4 separate regions of the Homo sapiens genome follow, and all the other regions are linked to region 1. The links are contacts of gene promoters, found by promoter capture Hi-C in blood cells and fetal thymus (Javierre and others, 2016). All regions are on one chromosome and are shown on one strand. The core of a region is centred on a gene start or on the middle of the fragment in contact, and the rest is flanking DNA. Distances in the headings are between cores, read along the strand shown. Region 1 holds the start of GPR45 (G protein-coupled receptor 45). Region 2 has its middle 120 kb from the start of CD8B2. Region 3 has its middle 96 kb from the start of CD8B2. Region 4 has its middle 70 kb from the start of CD8B2.

Region 1 (2,935 bases), core at 171-2,670:
TATCTTTTTGAAAGTGAAAGCAAGTTTATCAAGAATGTAAGGAATAAAAGCTCATTTCATTTACTTTTTTTTTAAGAGACAGGGTCTCACTCTGTTACCCAGGCTGGAGTACAGTGACACCTTCTTAGCTCACGACAGCCTCGAACTTCTGTGCTTGAGCAATCCTCCTGCCTCGGCCTCCTGAGTAGCAGGGACTATAGATGGAAGCCTGGCTCATTTTTTTGTGTGTGTAGAGATGGGATCTCTCTATGTTGCCCAGGCAGGTCTTGAACTCCTGGCCTCAAGCAATCCTCCTGTCTCTGCCTCTCAAAGTGCTGGGATTATAGGCATGAGCCACTGCACCCAGCTAACATTGTATTTTAAAAGGCCTTACCTTTGGGGAAAGTTCCCTTCTCCCAGTCTGTGCTTCCAGAAGTAATAGTATAGCAGCCCCACAGTTATCCAAGATGTTACCATTAGGGAAAACTGGGTGAAGGACACACAGAATTTCACCATAGTATTTATTATTATAACTCCATGTGAATTTACACTTATCCATGTGAATTTACACTTATCAAATAAAGTTAAACAAACAGACTTACAATTTCTTTTAAAAAATTAAAACTTAAAAATGTATACTTAAAATTTGCTAAGAGGGCAGATCTTAGGTGAAGTATTCTTACCACCAAAACAAAATGATAATACTAGAAAAATGGCAGGAGAGAGCTTTGGCAGGGGGAGTGGGATATGTTTTTGGCCTTGGTGGTGATGGGTTTCTGGTATATTGAGATGTAAATTTGTACAGCTTTTGACATGTCAGTCATTCCTCGATGAAGTGGGGTTTTTTAAAGCTAAACAAATATTATAGCAGCAGCATCAACTATCACTTATTCATCTACTCAACAAGCATCCAAGTGTCCTCAACAAGGACACTTACTGCATGCCAGCCACTGTTGTCAGTACTGGGAGATAGCAGAGAATGAAACAAGCAAAACCTTTCTCTTGTGGAGCAGGATTCTAACGTTAGTTGGCTAGACCAAGGCTTCATTCCGACAGGTTGCTGAAAACTCAAGTTATTACATAAACACTAACTACAAAGTGTACTTCCTCAGTTTCCTCAGAAGATAGCTGATTAGGTTTTTCTGGGCTGCTTGACAAGACTCAGACAGTATTTGTGAATATCAAGCTTTGTCCCACGTGGTAAATAAACTTGTTTAGAAACACCTGTAAAGCTTAAACGCGTGCTTTCTTCAACGCGTTTGGAAACTCTAACCCCCTTCTCTTTTGTACTTTTGCTTGCTGTCCACTACAGAGGGTCCAAGCACGAAGCTGTGCACAGAGTCGCTCTCCACAGAGATGCTTAGGATGTGATCCATGAATCGCAAATCCCAGCTAGTGCTCACAAAGACGGACATTTCTCCCCAAGACCATTCCAGTGCCCCAGAGGTCCACAGACATCCAGGAAGATGCAGCCAGCAGACAAAGAATGGCAGCCACCCAAGTGCTGAGGGGAGCCCTCCCGGCCATTTCTGTCCCAGCTCCAAGGGTCTCTCCACGATGGCCTGCAACAGCACGTCCCTTGAGGCTTACACATACCTGCTGCTGAACACCAGCAACGCCTCAGACTCGGGGTCCACCCAGTTGCCCGCACCCCTCAGGATCTCCTTGGCCATAGTGATGCTGCTGATGACCGTGGTGGGGTTCCTGGGCAACACTGTGGTCTGCATCATCGTGTACCAGAGGCCGGCTATGCGCTCGGCCATCAACCTGCTGCTGGCCACCCTGGCCTTCTCCGACATCATGCTGTCCCTCTGCTGCATGCCCTTCACCGCCGTCACCCTCATCACCGTGCGCTGGCACTTTGGGGACCACTTCTGCCGCCTCTCAGCCACGCTCTACTGGTTTTTTGTCCTGGAGGGCGTGGCCATCCTGCTCATCATCAGCGTGGACCGCTTCCTCATCATCGTCCAGCGCCAGGACAAGCTGAACCCGCGCAGGGCCAAGGTGATCATCGCGGTCTCCTGGGTGCTGTCCTTCTGCATCGCGGGGCCCTCGCTCACGGGCTGGACGCTGGTGGAGGTGCCGGCGCGGGCCCCACAGTGCGTGCTGGGCTACACGGAGCTCCCCGCTGACCGCGCCTACGTGGTCACCTTGGTGGTGGCCGTGTTCTTCGCGCCCTTTGGCGTCATGCTGTGCGCCTACATGTGCATCCTCAACACGGTCCGCAAGAACGCCGTGCGCGTGCACAACCAGTCGGACAGCCTGGACCTGCGGCAGCTCACCAGGGCGGGCCTGCGGCGCCTGCAGCGGCAGCAACAGGTCAGCGTGGACTTGAGCTTCAAGACCAAGGCCTTCACCACCATCCTGATCCTCTTCGTGGGCTTCTCCCTCTGCTGGCTGCCCCACTCCGTCTACAGCCTCCTGTCTGTGTTTAGCCAGCGCTTTTACTGCGGTTCCTCCTTCTACGCCACCAGCACCTGCGTCCTGTGGCTCAGTTACCTCAAGTCCGTCTTCAACCCCATCGTCTACTGCTGGAGAATCAAAAAATTCCGCGAGGCCTGCATAGAGTTGCTGCCCCAGACCTTCCAAATCCTCCCCAAAGTGCCTGAGCGGATCCGAAGGAGAATCCAGCCAAGCACAGTCTACGTGTGCAATGAAAACCAGTCTGCGGTTTAGGGGGTCAGGGGGCCACAGAGAAGGGGCAGCTGAGCCCCAGTCCCAGGGTGGATCTGTCCTGCTCTGTTCCCTGGCATGTTGGTCATAGTCTGCACTTTGTGGTGGCAATTTAAGCACAAAGGTACTCATTTGTAATCAGATGAGCTGCAGCTCCCAAATTTCAAATTTTGGCACGATGAATTATTTTTGTTTCTCTTTGCAGAGAGCCAAATATGGGGCTGATGGGAACTGCAACGTCATTAAGTCAAAAATGGAGTGGGCTGGGGAGTGCAGAAGTTGG
Region 2 (2,935 bases), core at 112-2,611, 1.4 Mb after region 1:
GACCACACCAAATATTCATGAGGGATCCACTCCTGTGACCCAAGCACCTCCCACCAGGCCCCACCTCCAACACTGGAGATTACGTTTAAATATGAGATTTGGAGGGGACAAACATCCAAAGTATATCATTCCACCCTGCTCCTGCCAAATCTCGTGTTCTTCTCACAATGCAAAATATAATCATCCATTCTCAATAGTTCCCCAAAGTCTTAATTCGTTTCAGTTTTAATTTGAAAGTCCTAATTCCCAAGTCTCATCTGGAGATTTTTTTTTTTTTCCCCCACTAAGAGCCTATAAAACTGAAACAAGTTATGTTCTTCCAAGAGACAGTGCAGGTACCAGCATTGGGTAAACATTCCTGTTCCAAAAGGGAGAAATTCACCTAAAGAAAGGGGCTATAAGTCCCATGCAAGTTGGAAACCCAGCAGGGCATTTATTAAATCTTAAAGCTACAAAATAATCTCCTTTGACTTCACATCCCACATCCAGAGCACAGTAGTGTCAGAAGTGGGCTCCCAAGGCCTTGGGCAGCCCTGCCCCTGAGGCTTTGCAGGGTCAGCCCCTGTGGTTGTTCTCACCGGCTGGTGTTGAGTGCCTTGGCTTTTCCAGGTGCAAGCTGTTGGTGGATCTCTATTCTGGGGTTTGGAAGATAGTGGCCCTCTTCTCACAGCTACACTAGGCAGTGCCCCAGTGGGGACTCTGTGTGGGGACTCCAACCCCACATTTCCCCTCATCACTGCCTTACTAGAGGCTCTCTGTGGGAGCTTCCCCTATGGCTGGCTTTTGCCTGGGCACCCAGGATTTCCCATACCTCCTCTGAAATCTAGGGGGAAGCTGCCAAGCTTCTTTCATGCTTATATTCTGTGCAACTATAGGCTTAACACCATGTGGAAGCCACCAAGGCTTATGACTTGTGCCCTTCAGAACAGAGACACAAGCTGTACTGGAGGCCCTTTGAGCCTCAGCTGTAGCTAGAGCCGCTGGGATTCAGGAAACAGTGTCCTGAGGGTGAGCAGGGCAACAAGGCCCCAGACCTGACCCCTGAAACCATTCTTTCCTCCTAGGCCTCTGGGCGTGTGATGTAATGTGTTGTCTCTAAGATCTCTGAAATGTTTCCACAGCCTTTTTCCCATTGTTTCGGATATTAGCACTTGACTCTCTTTTAGTCATGCGAATCTCCTTAGCAAATGGTTGCTACATAGCCTACTTACATTCCTTTTCTGAAAATGGTTTTACTTTCTGTGCCACATGGCTAGGCTGAACTTTTATGCTCTGCTTCCAACTTTAAGTCATTTCTTTGCTTCTGTATCTGATCATAGGTTGTTAGAAACAGTCCAGCCACATCTTGAATGCTTTGCTCTTTATAAATTTATTCCATTAGATACCCTAAGCCATCACTCTTAAGTTCAAACTTCCATAGATCTCTGGGACATGGACATAAATGCAGCCAAGTTCTTTGCAGGGATGTAACAGGGGCGACCTTTACTGTAATTTCTAATAACTTCTGCATTTCCATCTGAGAATTCATCAGCACAGCCTTCACTGTTCATATCTCTGTCAGCATTTTGGTCACAACCGTTTAACCAATCTTTAAGAAGTTCCAAATATTCCCTCATCTTGCCATCTTCTTCTGAGTCCTCCCAACTCTTCCAGCCTCTGCCTGTTACCCAGTTGCAAAGCTGCTTCCATATTTTCAGGTATCTTGACAGCAACACCCCACCCCTTGGCAGTAATTTTCAGTGTTAGTCCATTTTTTCATTACTATAAAGGAATACCCGAGACTGGGTAATTTATAAAGAAAAGAGATTCAGTTGGATCACAGTTGTGCAGACTGTACAAGCATGACACCACCATCTGATTGGCTTCTGATGGGGGTCTTAGGAAGCTTATAATCATGGTAAGGCAGGCACATCACATGGTGAGAGTGGGAGCAAGGGAGAGAGAGGGTTGAGGTGCCACACATTTTTAATCCATCCGATCTTGCAAGAACTTAGAGCAAAATCTCATTATCACAAGGACAGCACCAAGCCATTCATGAGAGATCCACTGTATGACCCAAACACCTTCCACCAGGCTCCACCTCCAACATTAGAGATTACATTTCAGCATGAGATTTGGAGGGGACAAACATCCAAACTGTATCACCATACTAATGCCAAATCTCCTGATTCATTTATGTTTATTTCCCATTTATTTTGATTTTCTATAATTTTTAAAACAATGTTTTGTAGTTTTTTTAGAGTATAAGTTTTGACTTCTTGGCCACACTCACCAGAAATTAGTCTCTGCAGGTTGAGTTGGAGGATAAGAGAAATAGTGGCAGCCTGCCCATCCTGGGAAGACACATAGCAGTTTTCTGGAAAATCAGGAGTAAAGGGCCCTCTTCTTTGTTACACTCATGTGGAGCAGAGCTCCTGTCAAGCTGTGTAGCAGGAGAGAGAGAGCAGTTTGTGGCTTAAGAGCTATAGATCTTCACTATTTTACTTGAGTTTAGTAGATTTGAATAAATTATTCTTGGGTAATTCTTCTTTAGCTAAATTGTTCCTTAGGACAATTTCCAAGGTTTTAGATGCTTTGGTTTTTTTTTTTTTTTAATAGTTTCTACTAGTTATGCTTTTATCAGTGGATATGAGTTCATGGAGCTCTGCATGCTGCCAGCCTCCAAATGGAACCTTTTTAATCATCACTTTAAAAAGCCCCAGAGGATGCACACATAAGAGCCTAAGGCTCCCTGGGAATTGCAGGCCTGAGAATCCACCTGACACCAGTGCTTCAGTCCTGAACAATTGTAAGGTTGGCATTACTATTCACTGAATGGGAAAGCCTGCAGCAGAAGCTGGTTTAGGTGCCATATGAGGAGTTTGATTTTGGAAATGCTGAATTCAAAATGCCTGTCAGACATCCACATGAGATATAAGTGGGAAGATAGGTGTAC
Region 3 (2,935 bases), core at 310-2,809, 1.3 Mb after region 1:
TAACTGAGATACAGAGACAGAGGTCAGAGACAGAGAGATAGGGAGATACAGAGACATAGAGACAGACAGAGATAGAGACAGAGATCAGAGACAGAGAGAGGCAGATAGACAGACAGAGATACAGAGACAGAGACAGAGAGAGACTGAAAGATAGACACCCGCCCCCCCACACACACAACGTATTTCTTCAATCAGTTTCATTTCCATACCATAGGTTTTATGCTTAGGGGAAATCTCATTTCTTCCAGATAACCCTGGGCTTTTCAAGCCTCTAGTCTAAATTGCTTCTGTGAGGATTCATTTATCTCTTTTTCCATAACCTGAGTTTTGAACTTCTTGTCCGTTTTCTCCTCCCAGTGCTTTCTTTTCCTTTTAGCCTGGGAATGGAGTTTTAAAGCTGAGAGTCTAGGTGGACCGCAGGGGAGTCCTGCACAGCACCGCCTCCACCCCACGCATGGCAGGGAGACCTCGCTCTCTCCGCGGGCCCTAGAGGTGCTGCGCTGCTCGCGGCCGGCAGGAGGAAGCGGGCCTCCCTGCTGTTGCCTAGGATATGTCCCGAGGTGCCTCCCATCGGACATCTTACGTGGGTGTTTTTGCTGATGCGTTTTTGAAGCTCAGTTAGGTCAAGGAAGTGCCTATCTGTGATTGAGCTTGGGAAGCACTCAGGACATATCTGGCATTTTTCTGGCTCATAACCAAACAAATCACAGCGCCCCTCCACCACAAAAAAAAAAAAAAAAAAAAGAAAAAAAAAAGAAACAAATGCCTTGGCTTGTATGTATGGAGTAAACGGACCAAAGTGGGGTCAGATATCTGCTTCTGTGAGTTCGTTCAAGTGGGGAGAATCCTCCTAACTGCAAGTGGGGCTTGAGCAGATGCCCGTGCCCGGCTGATTCTCCTACATGGAAAACTTCCAATTTCGCTCGGATTCAGGCTGCTTCTGGAGCTAGTCTCCCAGCTGGGGGAAGTGAGCGGATGCTGCCATCTAGAGTCAGGATGAGGTAAAGCGGCCAAACCCCTTGGGTTAGCGTTTTCTATTTCCTCTCGCTTTAGAATTCTCTCATTATTTGTTTTATATTCTTACATCGCATTGACAATACCCGGAGGAAAGAATTCCAGGCAATGATTCTGTCCTTAGCTGTCTGGTGGGATGCTATTTATTCACATATCTATAGACTCCCCATGTGTGCCTTGCACAGTGCCAAAATCTCTGAATTCAAGTAGACAATAAATATTCTTGTCAAATAATCTGTGCCCTAAGGTCACTTATTAAATCAGTTATTTAAAAGGAATGAGTTTATCTGTGAAACCAATTTTAGAAAGGATGATAGCTGGGTCATTGGTTACATGCATTTAAAATGCTTACGTATTTGACAAATTCCAAATTCCAAAGAGGCGGCGCCTGTTTACCTCTAACAGTGTGTAAGGGTACCTTTCCCTCCAACACTGCAAACATTGTGTATGGTCAAGCTGGTAAAACAATTTTTACTTGGATATGTGAAAAAGGATCTCTTATAATAACTAGTTCGTGAATTTTAAAATGTGAGGTTGAAATTGCTAAGAACTTATTTAAAGTCATCTATTTATGTATTTATCTATTTAGGATTGTGTCCTATCATGTCATTTGCTTTATTTTTATTAGGTTTTTGTTTTACTTTTTGCTATTGATTTGATACTTTTTTTATGTCATAAGGAAATTGGGTTTTCGTTAGATTCCTTGTAAACACAGTTTCTCCAGTTTTCACTTGACTTTTGCATTTGCCTATGTTTTGAAAATAATTTTGTCTTGAAGGCATTTTGAAATACTCTGGTTATGTCCATGCATCTTCTCCTTTATGGCTTTTGGCCTTGGGAGTACTGTTGATCTAGATAAAGAGATAAACAGAGTCCTGGCGCCTAGCTAGTGATAAATCATTTGCTGAATGATGAGTCCTTCCATGAAGCCTTTTTGTGATTGTGCTGATTTTGCATCCTTCAGATGATCAGTGCGGATACTTTCCCTGCCCACACTAGAAGACCATTGGCCATGCCCATGGCAAGGAATAGAGTGGAGGGAAGTCCCAGGGCGTCAGGCTCCGGCTCCACTTCTCTGCAATGCTCCTGGCAGGTCCTGCATGCCTCCTGTGACTGCTGTACCTCAGGTTCCCTCCTTTCCTGGTGTCAAAACTGTGGCCTCAGGTATGCACTCCCATCAAACATAGCACAATCCACAAAGAGGCTATGTCTTTCCATCAGTGCTTTTCAAGAATTAGGAGGCTTCTTTAAAACAGCACCTCACCTGTCATGGCCCAAGTGCGTCAGGTGCCTGTGCGTGGAAACACAGAAGCTGGAAGAGGCCTTGGCGGGCTTAGGATGGAGCGAACCTCAGCTCTTCAAAGGCAGGGATGCCTTAGGCATCTAAGGCAGATCTGTTAACAGAATAGTCAGTCCTCAGGTTAGCTGTCGGACACCTTTTAAGTAAGAAGGGCCCACTGATGTGGTGGCAGTGAGAGGTGACAGCAGCCTAGCAGCCCTCGCTCACTCTCAGCGCCTCCTGGGCCTCGGTGCCCACTCTGGCCGCGCTTGAGGAGCCCTTCGGCCCGCCGCTGCACTGTGGGAGCCCTTCTCTGTGCTGGCTGAGGCCGGAGTCAGCTCCCTCTGCTTGCGGGGAGGTGTGAAGGGAGAGGCGCCGGCGGGAACCGGGACTGAGGGCGGTGCTTGCCAGCGCAAGTTCCAGGTGAGCGCGGGCTCCGCGGGCCGCGCACTCCCGGGCAGTGAGGGGCTTAGCACCCGGGCCAGCAGCTGTGGAGGGCGCGCCAGGTCCCCCAGCAGTGTGGGCCCGCCCACGCCTTGGTCGAATTCTCGCTGGACCTCAGCCGCCTCCCCGTGGGGCAGGGATCGGGACCTGCAGCCCGCCACGCTCGAGCGCCCCACCTTCCCGCAGTGGGCTCTCGCG
Region 4 (2,935 bases), core at 279-2,778, 1.3 Mb after region 1:
CATCCCTCTCTATGCCCTCCAACTCTGACTTGCAAAATAGACCAAGGAGACAGGTTAGGAAGAACTTCTGGGAGCAACACGGAAAAAAGTACGTTTTTGGAATCTGGGTCACTATCGTAATCTGCTGCAGATAATGAGCAGTGAATGTGTGTTTGATGAGATGGGACTTCTTCCCCTTAGGTCTGAAGGAACTCATTTGGAGAACAGGCATGCAGATGCCCTGAGAGCTCGGTGCCACACGATGGACACACAAATGGAGATATGGCTTCCACATGCTGTGTTCCCACACCTCTCATATTTCAGACGCAGTGCTTTGCCCTTCATCCATTAACTCGCATTCTTTTTCTCTTCTGTCTCCCTCCATTTGGGATGATCAAAATTTTATTTCTGGATGAGCTCCTTTTTGCCCACTCTAAGAGTTAAATACCTTTGCTGACACTGAATTTGGAAACACAGACTTAGGGAAATTTTTCAGAAAGACTGCTTTAAGAGTAATTTTTTTTCCCAACAGACAACACAGAAGTAGAATTTTATTTACTTGCTTTTGCTATTATTAGCCATTTATATCATATCATAACTTATGAATAAGACATTAAGATGAGCATTGTAAACGAATGCTACCAATTGCATAAGAGAGAATCCATTCATTTTTGCTAGCTTGTATTGTTTTCTGTGTTTCCACCATACAATTAGATGTAAAATAGAAATACAATTCTATTGCATTAAAGAGTAATACTTGTTTATATGTTACTATGTGATAGGCATATAATTAAAGCTTAAAAAATTTTTGCTGAATTAAATTGAATGTAATAAGGAACATTTGAAAAACACAGAAAAATAAAATTTTTAAAAATATAAAGTTTTCCATCCCTATTAAATAACCAATATAAACATTTTGGTGTATATCCTTTAACTCTTGTCCCTATGTGTGTATCTGTATCCATATCTCTAACTCTATCTGTAGCTCTATCATCTCTACACGAACACACACACACACACACACACCAACACTTACAAGATTAACAAATGTGGTATCATAGTTTATAAAATGTGTAGTATTATAACATTTATAAATGTTGTAGTATAGTGTAGGAGCTCTACATGAGATAATGCATGGTTTATTTTGTATGATTCATGTTGCATCCTGAGAATCTCATCCTTAGCTCAAACCATGGGATTAGAAGTTAGACAAATCTGGATATAATATTGAATAAGTTTTTTGACTTCTTTGTATCTGTTTCTTTATTCCTATAAAAATGGGAATAATAATACTCACCACACATTTTTGTGAAGATTAAATGAGATAATGAAAAGGCATGAAAAGCCCTTAGCACAGTGTGTGGAACTTAGAAGTTTTTCCGTATTATTAAAAGGTCACTGATGCACTTCCATGTATATATATCTTCAGCCTCATCTCTTTATGTTTTATAAGCATTGATTCCTGGAAGTAGAATTGTTGAATCAAAGGAGATAATATTTTCCCCAGAGAACTCAAGAGGGAGAAGAGGGAGCAAACTGGAAAAGTCCTAAATGCCAGGGAGGAGGGGGTGAAGTTGGCAGGATAGAAGAGAAGCTGATGTTAAGTCCAAGGCCTTTAAAAAGATATCAAAGAGATGGATTTTGGAATGGGGTGGGGTGAAGGTGAAATCTGTGATTTTTGATAAGATCTCTTAATTTTCTTTTTTCTTTTTCTTTTTTTTTTTTTCTTTTTTAGGTGGAGTCTTGCTCTGTCACCCAGGCTGGAGTGCAAGGGCGCGATCTCAGCTCACTGCAAGCTCCGCCTCCCAGGTTCACGCCATTCTCCTGCCTCAGCCACCCGAGTAGCTGGGACTACAGGGGCCCACCACCACGCCTGGCTAATTTTTTTGTATTTTTAGTAGAGACAGGGTTTCACCGTGTTAGCCAGGATGGTCTCGATATCCTGACCTTGTGATCCACCTTCCTCGGCCTCCCAAAGTGCTGGGATTACAGGCGTGAGCCACTGAGCCCGGACAATTTTCTCTTTTCTAAAGTTAAATAAACAAGTTAGTTTATTTTATAAATCGTGTTGCCTCCTGAGAATCCCATCCTTAGCTCAAACCATGTTCTTTTCACTTCCCAATGATGAAGGTAACGAGAGAGCATTGAGTATTCTCCCCTTTTCCAGGACCCCCTATGTAAAAACTTGGTGTTCTGAGAAGGTTAATTTGTCACTGAGAAGGGGTTCACCGACTATTCTTTAATTCAGCTTTTAACAAGAGAGTGTCATTTTCATGAAAACAAAAGCATCCCTGCTGCTGATGGAAGCTTTCCATCTTGTGTTTATGCTGATGGTTGTCCCCACCCGCCTGGCCTAGTTATTTCACACTCAGATAAACTATGCAAGCATTCGGGATGGGCTGCAAGGCAGTGCCCGCTCCTTTTTATTTGCTGCCATGGCTGGTCAATTGGGAGCAGAGTAGATGGTCTGTGGTCCCAATTGTGGTGGTCTGTGCCCTGTTAGGATGTTAGGATGGTCTGTGGTCCCAATTGTGGTGGTCTGTGCCCTGTTAGGAACCAGGCCACACAGCAGTAGTTGAGTGTCAGGTGAGCAAGGAAAGCTTCATCTGTATTTATAGCTGCTCCCATGGCTCACATTATCACCTGAACTCTGCCTCCTGCCAGATCAGCAGTGGCATCAGATTCTCACAGGGGCACAAACCCTATTGTGAACTGCAAGCAGGAGGGATCTAGGTTGCGCGCTCCTTATGAGAATCTAATGCCTGATGATCTGTCATTGTCTCCCATCACCCCCACATAATATCATCAGTTGCAGGAAAACAAGCTCAGGGCTCCCATTGATTCTGATTCCACATTATGGTGAGTTGTATAATTATTTCATTATATATCACAATGTAATAATAATAGAAATAAAGTACACAATGAAAGTAATGCACTGGAATCATCCTGAAACCAT

What was found. The method cuts DNA at HindIII sites, captures the fragments that hold promoters and counts their contacts. A CHiCAGO score of 5 or more calls a contact.
Region 2: a fragment that was not itself captured here is called in contact with the fragment with the promoter of GPR45 in region 1 in 6 of 17 cell types (total CD8 T cells, non-activated CD4 T cells, total CD4 T cells and 3 more); the score reaches 7.8 in total CD8 T cells.
Region 3: a contact is called between a fragment that was not itself captured here and the fragment with the promoter of GPR45 in region 1, in 1 of 17 cell types (non-activated CD4 T cells). The highest score is 5.0, in non-activated CD4 T cells.
Region 4: a fragment that was not itself captured here is called in contact with the fragment with the promoter of GPR45 in region 1 in 4 of 17 cell types (naive CD8 T cells, non-activated CD4 T cells, total CD4 T cells and 1 more); the score reaches 10.0 in naive CD8 T cells.

What each region holds. Positions count from the first base shown.
Region 1 is chr2:105,240,323-105,243,257 of GRCh38, forward strand. GPR45 (G protein-coupled receptor 45) reads left to right here and starts at 1,421. Exons shown (of 1, transcript NM_007227.3): 1 at 1,421-2,935. The coding sequence starts at 1,537. The coding sequence ends at 2,655. The HindIII fragment of the contact is 10,787 bases long and covers 1,210-2,935 here.
Region 2 is chr2:106,601,166-106,604,100 of GRCh38, forward strand. No RefSeq gene overlaps it. Among named protein-coding and RNA genes, the nearest start is that of CD8B2, 120 kb to the left of the region's middle. The HindIII fragment of the contact is 1,043 bases long and covers 841-1,883 here.
Region 3 is chr2:106,581,760-106,584,694 of GRCh38, forward strand. No RefSeq gene overlaps it. Among named protein-coding and RNA genes, the nearest start is that of CD8B2, 96 kb to the left of the region's middle. The HindIII fragment of the contact is 4,102 bases long and covers 1-2,935 here.
Region 4 is chr2:106,555,591-106,558,525 of GRCh38, forward strand. No RefSeq gene overlaps it. Among named protein-coding and RNA genes, the nearest start is that of CD8B2, 70 kb to the left of the region's middle. The HindIII fragment of the contact is 1,511 bases long and covers 774-2,284 here.